2 separate regions of the Homo sapiens genome follow, and region 1 is linked to region 2. Evidence: promoter capture Hi-C in 16 types of primary human blood cells and fetal thymus (Javierre and others, 2016). All regions are on one chromosome and are shown on one strand. Each heading gives the region's core, a stretch centred on a gene start or on the middle of the fragment in contact. The rest is flanking DNA. Distances are from core to core; before and after follow the strand shown. Region 1 holds the start of LOC124904268 (a long non-coding RNA gene). Region 2 holds the start of OSBPL1A (oxysterol binding protein like 1A).

Region 1 (5,134 bases), core at 1,895-4,394, 37 kb after region 2:
ATAGCTGGATGTGGTGGCATACTCCTGTAATCCCAGCTACTCGGGAGGCTGAGGCAGGAGAATCACTTGAACCCAGCAGGCAGAGGTTGCAGTGAGCCAAGATTGTGCCACTGTATTCCAGCCTGGACAACACAGCGAGATTCTATCTCAAAAAAAAAAAAAAAAAGGAAAAAAAGAAAAAGAAAGAAGTGTAATAAGAGGGAAATGTGCTTATGAGAGATTCGTCAGAGAGATACGGTGTTTCTGCCTTAGAAACTGCAGGAAAGGGGGCTGTGAGCCAAGGAAGGTGGACAGTCTCTAGCAACGGGAAAAGCAAGGAAATGAATTCTCCCCTAGAGCCCTTGCAACACCTTGATTTTTCCCAACAAGACCTATTCTGGACTTCTCAAATACAGAACTGTGAGGTAACACATTTCTTTCTGTTGTTTTAAGCCACCGAGTTTGTGGTCATTTGTTATAGCAGCGGTAGAAAGCTAGACACTCTAATAGAAAAAGCAGCCTCATGCTAGCAAGCATGTAGGTGTTCTCATTTGTTTTCTGCTGTATTTGCTACTTTTACTGGGTTTTTGCCTTTTGTTTTAAATCAAGTCATTTCCCTCTGGCAGCAAAACTGCTGGGTTTCACTGCCAGGCCTGCCCTGGTCAGACTTGTTTGGGGAGGTGGGGAGGACTAATAGCCTGTGGCTAGAAAGCTAAAGACTCCCAGTGTTCTTCCTCCAAGTTCCTGCCATTCCTCTGGAGTAACTGCCTCTCAGTTTGTTTCTTTAATGGATATCCAGCACCACAAAATGGTTAGTTTTGACAATTTTGTCCAGCTTTATGCTCATTTTTTCAGGATAACAGTTGTCTTATCCTTTCATAGCTAAAAGTTGCTTTACCCCATATTAATGTTTTTTTGATTATTTAAATGATATGCAAAATTAACTATGACATAGAGTGTATTTCTTGTATATTCTAGTTGTTGACCATAGTCCAACATGATACCTAAAGGTTATTTCGTAAGCACGTGATTGGAAGCTTTATGTGAATTTATCATGAGTTAAAGAACAAATTTATTATTATATTGTTTCACACTTTTCATTATTCTAATGACTAGATTTAACTAACTTTTAATACGTTACCATGAGTCAATTCTGTATGTGCTAAGCATGTTTGAATTAGTACATTTTATACCACTCTTGTCTATTTGTTCATAAATTGATACTTGTGAACCAGATATGGAGTCTTAACTCAAGCTGAGAAAAAAGAACCTTTTATAATAAACAATAAAGGTTGTGGTTAATTTCTATGCTTGACTTTGTGGGGTTTCAAATATGAGCTGCAGATGGCTCGATTTGCCTGACTACGTGAACTACTTGCTGTTTTTTTTTATGGTCTTGCTCATTCTTTTCTATATACCTAAGAAAATTCTATTGTCATCTATTTCTACATGGCCCAGATCTACCCATTCAAAGTGCTACTCAAATGTAATATCCATAAATTCTTTCCTAACATCTTGCAGCTGGAAGGAAACTATACTCTTCCAGGATTCCTGGGCACAGTACAGCACTTTCATTCGTCTTCTACCTTGTATTAGTGTTATTTTTGTCTATGTCTTTTTTTTTTTTTTTTTTTTTTTGAGATGGAGTCTCCCATTGTCACCCAGGCTGGAGTGCAGTGGCACGATCTCACTTCACTGCAATCTCCGCCTCTCGGGTTCAAGTGATTCTCCTGCCTCAGCCTCCTGAGTAGCTGGAATTACAGGCATGTGCCACCATAGTGTGTATTTTTAGTAGAGACAGGGTTTCACCATGTTGGTTGGCCAGGCTGGTCTCAAACTCCTGACCTCAAGTGCTCTCAATCCCAAAGTGCTGGGGTTATAGGAGGGAGCCACTGCACCCAGTCTGTAGTCTGTGTCTTAACTCTGCTACTAAGTTGCATTAATCTTGCTAGCAAGGAATTATCATGTCTTGTTTTTTGTGTCCCCATGAGCACAAGGTAAGTTTTACCTCCCATCTCTGTAATCACCTAGATCAAATAAGTTCATTTATCTATGTTCAGCTCTTTACATATTTGGCCATTTCTGCTATTTTCTTGAACTTTGAACGTGAGACCATGCTAAATTGAGCCTTAGTTTGACATGAGCATCAGCATATATACAGTAAGTCCTCACTTAATGTCAATGATAGATTTTTGGAAACTAACTTTTGGATAAACGATGTATAAGGAAACCAACTTCACCATAGGCCAATGCATATAAACAAGAGTTAAGTTCCTACAGAATAATTATAGTCACAAAAAAACATCACTGCCAGGCATAGTGGCACATGTCTGTAATGCCAGCACTTTGGGGCGCTGAGGCAGGTGGACTGCTTGAGCCCAGGAGTTCAAGACCAGCTTGGGCAACATAGGGAGACCTCACTTCTACAAAATCAAAAATTAGCCAGATGTGGTAGCATGCATCTGTAGTCCCAGCTACTCGGGAGGCTGAAATGGGAGGATCACTTGAGCCCAGGAAGTTGAGGCTGCAGTGAGCCGCAGTTGTGCCACCACACTCCAGCCTGGGCAGCTGAGTGAGACTCTGTGCCAAAAAAGAAAAGAAAATTACCACACTTCTAAATGAAGAGCAAACACTTCTGATATTAAACATTGAAATAAATGTGAGCTATTCATACATTTAGAAACATTAGTAAAAACAAGATAATTATTTACCCATTTATTCCAGTTCAGGTGTGAGGGTGGCTGGAACCTATCCCGGCAGCTCAGGGAGCACAGGGGGATCCAGGCCTGGAGAGGATGCATCTTGTCACAGGGCCACTCACATACACACCCACACTCACACTGGGACAGTTCAGACATGCCTGTTCACTTGCTATGCACATCTTTAGGAGGTGAGAAGAAAACAGAGTACCTGAGATACCCACGCAGACACAAGGACATGTGAACTCCAACAGACATTGGCCCCCTCCAAGAATCGATTTTTTTTTCTTGTGAACATTGCAATGAAATGATGTTGAATGAAATGGTGTTGTTTGAAGATCTGCTGTATTTTGTTATCTGTTGTCTTAGAAAATAACATTTAGCTGAAGTTACATGATTGTGTTATGTAGGAAACATTAAAATTAAAAAATGTATGTGCTCAATATCTAAGCATGACTGAATTGTGCAAAGAGTTTGGTTTCTAATTCTCATGAAAAGAATCAAGTTATCTCATTCCTATGTGATCATTTACCATGAAGATAATTTTAAAATATCTTATGATCCTGTGATTCAGTAAGTAGAATGTTGAGTTGAAAAGGGATTTGGCTTATTATAAAGCACTTTAAACTCTTATCCTCTGGAATATTTAAAAAATGCAGCTCCCCAGCTTGGCACGGTGGCTCATGCCTGTAATCCCAGCACTATGGGAGGCCAAGGCGGGTGGATCACCTGAGGTCAGGACTTCAAGACCAGCCTGGCCAACATGGTGAAACCCTGTCTCTACTAAAAATACAAAAAAATTAGCTGGGCCTGGTGTCGGGTACCTGTAATCCCAGCTACTTCAGGAGGCTGAGGCAGGAGAATCACTTGAACCTGGGAGGCGGAGGTTGCAGTGAGCCGAGATCGCGCCATCGCACTCCAGCCTGGGTGACCACAGCGAAACTCTGTCTCAAACAAAAACAGAACAAACAAAAAAATCATGCAGTTCCCCAGCTCTTGAGGCACCTTTGGGCTTTTCTTGGTACATTAGTGCCCCCTAGTGTTCTTTGGTAAAAATCAGAATACCAGAATTTTAAAATACTGTGTTTAGTATTTGTTCCTTACTTTACTTTCAGATGCAGTTATAAAGTTTTTATGCCTTTTATAATCAATTTAAAATAGGAATATGGTATGTATAATGAATATTTGGATTGTTGCACTGACCTTTTAGCAGAATTGAGAATACTTTTATTTTTTTTTAATTTTTATTTATTTATTTAGATACAGGATCTCACTCTTTCACCCATGCTGGAGTGCAGTGGGGCCCTCATAGCTCACTGCAGCCTTGAACGTCTGGGCACAACAGATCCTTCCACCTAGAACTATACGCGTGCGCCACTGTACCTGGCTAATTTTTAAAAATCTTTTGTAGAGACAGGGTTTCACCGTGTTGCCCAGGCTGGTCTTGAACCTTAAGCGGTCTTCCTACCCCAGCCTCCCAAAGTTCTCGGATCACAGGCATGAGCCACCACGCCCAGCTGAGAATGCTTGTAAAACACATGCTTCCAGAGCCGGGTGTAGTGGCTCACACCTATAATCCCAGCTACACAGGAGGCGAAGGCAGGAGGATCGCTTGAAGTCAGGAGTTAGAGGCCAACCTGGGCAACATAACAAGACCCCCTCTTCCCGCCCCCCACCATATCTCTCTCTTTCTCTCTCTGTCTCTGTCTCTTTCTCTATAGACAGGGTCTCGCTCTGTCGCCAAGGCTGGAGTACAGTGGTGCAATCTCAGCTCACTGCAACCTCCACATCCAGAGCTCAAGTGATCCTCCCACCCTAGCCTCCCCAGGAATTAGGACCACAGGCATGTGCCACTGTACCTGGCTAATTTTCTGTATTTTTTGTAGGGACAGGGTTTTGCCATGTTGCCCAGGCTGGTCTGAAACTCCTGGGCTCAAGTGATCTGCCTGCCTTAGCCTCCCAAAGTGCTGGGGTTATAGGCATGAGCCACCGTGCCCAGCCAAGACCCCATCTCTAAAAAACTCAAAGCTGGATGTATGGCATGTGCTTGTAGTCCCAGCTACTCTGGTGGCTGAGGCAGGAGGATCGCTTGAGCCCCAGGAGTTTGAGGCTACAGTGAGTGAGCTATGATGGCACCACCGCACTCCAGCTTGGATGACAGAGCAAGACCCTGTCTCTAAAATAGTAAATAAACAAATACAATAAATGCTTCCTATGTTCTGTGTCTCAGAAATTCTCTCTATCTCACCTAACATACAGAATATATGTATAATCCTGGGCTTTAGGATTTCCTAGGAGACCATTTCTCATGTTTATGTATTGAAGGCCTACTGTGTTTCAGGCGATGCCCAGACAACTTGACACGTATCGTTTCATTTGATGGAGAATGACTGCCTTGAAATATATACATATAATTTGTTCTAGATCTGTTCTCAGGGAAGCTGAGATGGAGATGA
Region 2 (4,749 bases), core at 2,250-4,749:
GAGTGCCCTAATCCGGCCTTTGCCAAGCCAGATTTCCAGCTGTTTCTTTGATGTCTGAGTGATATATTCTTTATTTGCTTAAGTTAGCCAGCACCAGTGCTTGCTGCTTACAACCAAGAAACTCTACAGAAGACATAAGGGTCTCTTCCAAACTTTTTGTGTGGGGAACCAGCAAAATCAATCACTGCTGGAAGGCAGTTGCTTAGACATCTGTGTGTCATACCTGCAGGAAAAGAGAGATGGGTACAAAATTAAGTCTAGACCAAAAGAATTTAATATCTGAAACTATACCAATTCATTCCTGTTATTAAATAAACTGAGTGAAATGGCACAAATGACAAATAACAAATTTAGACCACTTTTAAGAGAGAAAAACTCCCAATGACCTCATAGCTTTGATGGTCTGGAGTTAATAGTAACTACAAAGTCTTTCATATGTAGGTATAAGGGAATGATTCATTTCCCTCAACTCAATGGTTTATCTGCATTCGCCTGATGACATCTGACCTACTTTTCAGTATTCCAGGCAGTAATTACCCAAAGCCCTCCCCAAAGTCTCAGTCCATAAAATCCTCCTTTTAATGAGACTTAAGCCTTTAGCGTGTTCCTGCACCACTTCAAAGTCACACTGGCACCAGGGGAGTGTTTTTAAAACATGCAATGCACTAAGTGCATTCTGGGATGTCTCAGGCTTGAGACAAAACTGCAAGGACCAGACATTAGGTACTACAATCTAAAGAGGATCACATTCTGAAGGAGGTCATTGGAATGCGGGGAGGGGGATGACAGTAGAGAGATTTGGGCTCCTAAGTTTCCTGAAACAAAAGAGTCCAAGGTGAATCCAGTCTGAACCAGGCAATGAACAATTCTGATGAAGCCCATCCCAGTCTTAAGTTACCCGGTTCACTTTTCAATGTGGGTCAGGCAGGCCCGGGAATGGCAGGGCCAGGGGTTAGATACTCCCAAATCCATTTCACAACCAGTCAGAGCTTCCATTGCAATTCCTACTTATATATGTAGGGATTATATTACTAGTTACTTTAATATGCCGCATCTGCAAAGTTAAAATATCTATCTGCCTAAAGCTCAGAAAGGAATATGAAGGAAAATATTTATTAACTAGTTCCAGAGGTTCTACTTCTGCCAAATGTTTCTTAAAATAGAGTATGATATGACGGGGACAATCTAGTGATAGTTTTGTTATTCTAGAACTGCACTGCCCAATATGGTAACTGCTATCCACATGTGGCTATTTAAATTAAATAAAACTTGAAACCGTCAGTCACACTGGCCACATTTCAAGTACTCAATAGCCACATGTGGCTAGTGGCTACTGTACTGGACAAGGTAGAATTATAGAACATTTCTATCATCGCAGAAAGTTCCATTAGACACAGTGTTCTAGAATAATGAATTCTGTTATGCCATCATGGTGATTTTACCTGTACTAGCCGTCAATAATATAAATGCCCATGAGATATCTTTTCTGCATATTTTATGGAAATACCAAATAAAGTCCTTTAAAGATACAGTATAAATAGTAATGCTATCAAGATTGGAACTTCTCTTATTGATAACTGTAGTGATTACTACTTCATCCTCCTATTGACTGCAATCTGTTTTTCATTTGCAAACTGTAGAAGGGAGTTGCAAAGTGCAAGTTGTGAATTTAGGTAATTAAATCATCACAGAGAGAATGAAGGCTTTCATGGAATCATGGAAAATTATTTCAGTAGCCAATTATTATTGTCATTATTTCGGTAGTTTTATTTTGGCTATGAAGATGGTTCAAGGCTGGGTGTGGTGGCTCACACCTATAATCCCAGCACCTTGGGAGGCTGAAGTGGGTGGATCACCTGAGATCAGGAGTTTGAGATCAGACTGACAAACATAGTGAAACCCTATCTCTACTAAAAATACAAAAGTTAGCCGGGTATGGTGGCACGCACCTATAGTCCCAGCTACTTAGGAGGCTGAGGCAGGAGAATCGCTTGAACCTCGGAGGCAGAGGTTGCAGTGAGCTGAGATTGCACCACTGCACAAGAGTAAAACTCCATCTCAAAAAAAAAAAAAAAGATGGTTCAATATCCTTAGATAGTAAGCCCTGAGGTTTCTTCTTTTCCAGACAAATACAGCTGCTTTAGTTACCACACATTTTGCAGTTGAAGTATTGTGCTAGTAAAGTGCCTGCTTTGTTAATAAAAGATGATGCCAGCCTGAGATACACCAGCAGGATTGCTTGTGGTATCCAAAAACATCATTTCAAAAGATCTGCCATATGCTGTTTCACACATATCACAATGACCAAAAGGGCCTATTATAGGTTCTCAATACATGCTTCTAGACTTGATGGAAAAACTACAGTCCTTTTAAAAATGATACCTATTTATTACTTTTTCATTGCAAAAGAACATGTTCATTAAATACATTTAGAAAATTCAGGAAAGCAGAAATCAGTTTTCGTATGCTCGTAATTTCCTGTCTTTTTAGTTATGCAGAAATGCTTTTAAAAAGCAAAGCTGTGGCCTGCAGGGGTGACTCACGCCTGTAATCCCAACACTTTGGGAGGCCCAGGAGTTGGAGACCAGCCTGGGCAACATAGGGAGAGTCTGTCTCTACTAAAAATACAAAACTTGTCCGGGCGCGGCAGGGCGCGCCTGTAGTCCCAGTCCCTTGATTACCCGCCTGTAGTCCAGCTGAGGCCGGAGGATCGCTTGAACCCAGAAGACGATGCTGCAGTGAGCCGAGATCGCGCCACTACACTCCAGCTTGGGAGACAGAGTGAGACCTTGCCTCAAAAAAAGAAAAAAACAAAAACGGTGGAATTATACTAGAGTTTGAACCTTCACGTTATAGACTATTTGCTAACTCCTCTAGCTAGACGCCTTGTGCATGGAATCTGGAGGAGAGGAGGTGAGGAAATTTTGTAAATCCTTGTCTCACGCATATCTATTCTATAATGGTTACACCTGTATGGCATTTTAAGCGCTTCCTTTCACAGGTGAAAGTAAAAGGAGGTGTTTTTTTGTAAATTGTCTAATTTACATTGCCAATTAAGTTCCCACGGGTCGAGTTGCAGCCAAAGCAAAAAAGAAAAAAATCTGGGCAGCTGGATAACCTATTGCTTAATGACAGACTTCAGACTATTAACCCAGGACTTATATTTTGCCTGGGGACGCGAGTCTTCCACTGGCTCACACGGGCGGTTCCTTGTAGTCTCCGGGTAAGGCCTGCCACTTCTTCCCTCGGGGTGTGGTGGGAGGAGCGCGAAGGCTTTACGCGTCCCTAGTAGCTGGCAAAACCTGGAACCAGCGCCGGTGGCCCAGGCGGGACAGGAGCGGGCCGGGGGCGTGGGCAGGCCAGGCAGGGGCGGGGAGTGGGCGGGGAACGGGCGTGTCCCCGCTGCGGTCACGTGTCGGGAGGGATGCCAGCTCGCCAGGAGGATGCGCGTTCCAGGGGCGGGCTGCGGGGAGGGGCGGCGCCACCTCGCGCTCCGCCGTGGTCCCGGCGCCGGGTCCCGGAGACAGACGTTACGCGGGCTCGAGCGTCCTCGGGGAGTGCCAGCCAGAGTTGGTGACGACCACTTCCTCGACGTGGGGCGGGCGGACGGGAAGCCTGGGGTCGTGGCCACCGCCTCGGGAGCTCTGGGAGCCCGGGTGACCGCGTAGGTCAGTTTCTCGCGGCTGTCCACGCCTGGAGTTCGAGGCCGGTTCCCGCGCTGACGGGTTCCCGCCGGGCTGCGCTCGGGAGGTCTGTCCGCGCCTGGTTGGGGGTGGGCGCTCCCGTCCCGGGCGTCTCAGAGGATGGTCGGGTCGTGGCGCGGCGACGCAGGGCTGCAGCCGAGCTCGGCTTCCCGGCGGCCGCTGGCTGCTCCAGCGCTGCAGGAAGTTAGGCGTTAAAAGTAACAAGATGTTGGCGTTTGTTGCACTTCCCACTCGGGTGCCACGACCATGCTGGTGCCGCATGCATCCCCTACCAGATCTTCAGCTGCGTGCCTTCTCGGTACTTTCGTGTGTCCATGTGACTTTTTAATTTCCTCCTAACAAGAGGAGGATTGATGCACAATGGAAGTCACGCATTGTTCATGTGACCGTTTCCCAATGTACCGCGTGGTCGGTTCTACAAGCATGAACGAATATCCAAGGGAGATTCTGAAACTGAATGAGAGCGCAGCTGCACAATAGACTTTAACAATTCACTTATCCCGCTGCCCTAATGATTGGCAGGAGGCATTGAAAAGGGTTATTCTGATTTAGTATTAGTTTTCAGTTCAAGTTGTCGTTTTTAGGCAGACGGTATTGTGAAATGGAACTGTGGGCAGTGTGATATTCTTAGCTTAAATAAGGTTGCTTGAATGTTGCAAATGTGGCTATTAGGTGTCTGTGAATAGTTAATAATATAATTAAATCAGCTTTAAAATCGGTGATGTGTTTTCCCTGAAAACTTCAGTCTTTGCCCTGTAATAGGTGCATTCTGGATTTGGAGTTTGGAACCTCCTCACCTCTTTACTCAGCATCTGGGAAATAATTTGCAGATTCGTTTTGAGGGGTAGAAGTATTTGCAGTCTAACCCCGATACAATGAATTTTTTGCAGCAGTTTGATAGGTATAAATTCTGAACCACCCCCCTCCCTCCCCACCCCAAGCTGGAATTGTGAAGATTTCTTAATTACAGCATAGTAACAAAATCCACCTTTTAATTCCCTAATTCTAAACCACTAGGTGGGCTTTGTCTACAGTTTATAGGGGG

What was found. The method cuts DNA at HindIII sites, captures the fragments that hold promoters and counts their contacts. A CHiCAGO score of 5 or more calls a contact.
Region 1: a fragment that was not itself captured here is called in contact with the fragment with the promoter of OSBPL1A in region 2 in 1 of 17 cell types (M2 macrophages); the score reaches 5.9 in M2 macrophages.

What each region holds. Positions count from the first base shown.
Region 1 is chr18:24,358,480-24,363,613 of GRCh38, reverse strand. The region is part of intron 4 of OSBPL1A (oxysterol binding protein like 1A); the gene reads left to right. LOC124904267 (a long non-coding RNA gene) reads right to left here. Exons shown (of 3, transcript XR_007066312.1): 3 at 3,584-3,622. It overlaps LOC124904268 (a long non-coding RNA gene), which reads right to left and starts at 3,538. Exons shown (of 3, transcript XR_007066314.1): 1 at 3,503-3,538; 2 at 2,691-2,765. The HindIII fragment of the contact is 4,252 bases long and covers 1,019-5,134 here.
Region 2 is chr18:24,396,574-24,401,322 of GRCh38, reverse strand. OSBPL1A (oxysterol binding protein like 1A) reads left to right here and starts at 3,499. Exons shown (of 28, transcript NM_080597.4): 1 at 3,499-3,668. It overlaps LOC124904268 (a long non-coding RNA gene), which reads right to left. Exons shown (of 3, transcript XR_007066314.1): 3 at 1-223. RefSeq lists a silencer at 3,436-3,565. The HindIII fragment of the contact is 23,089 bases long and covers 1-4,749 here.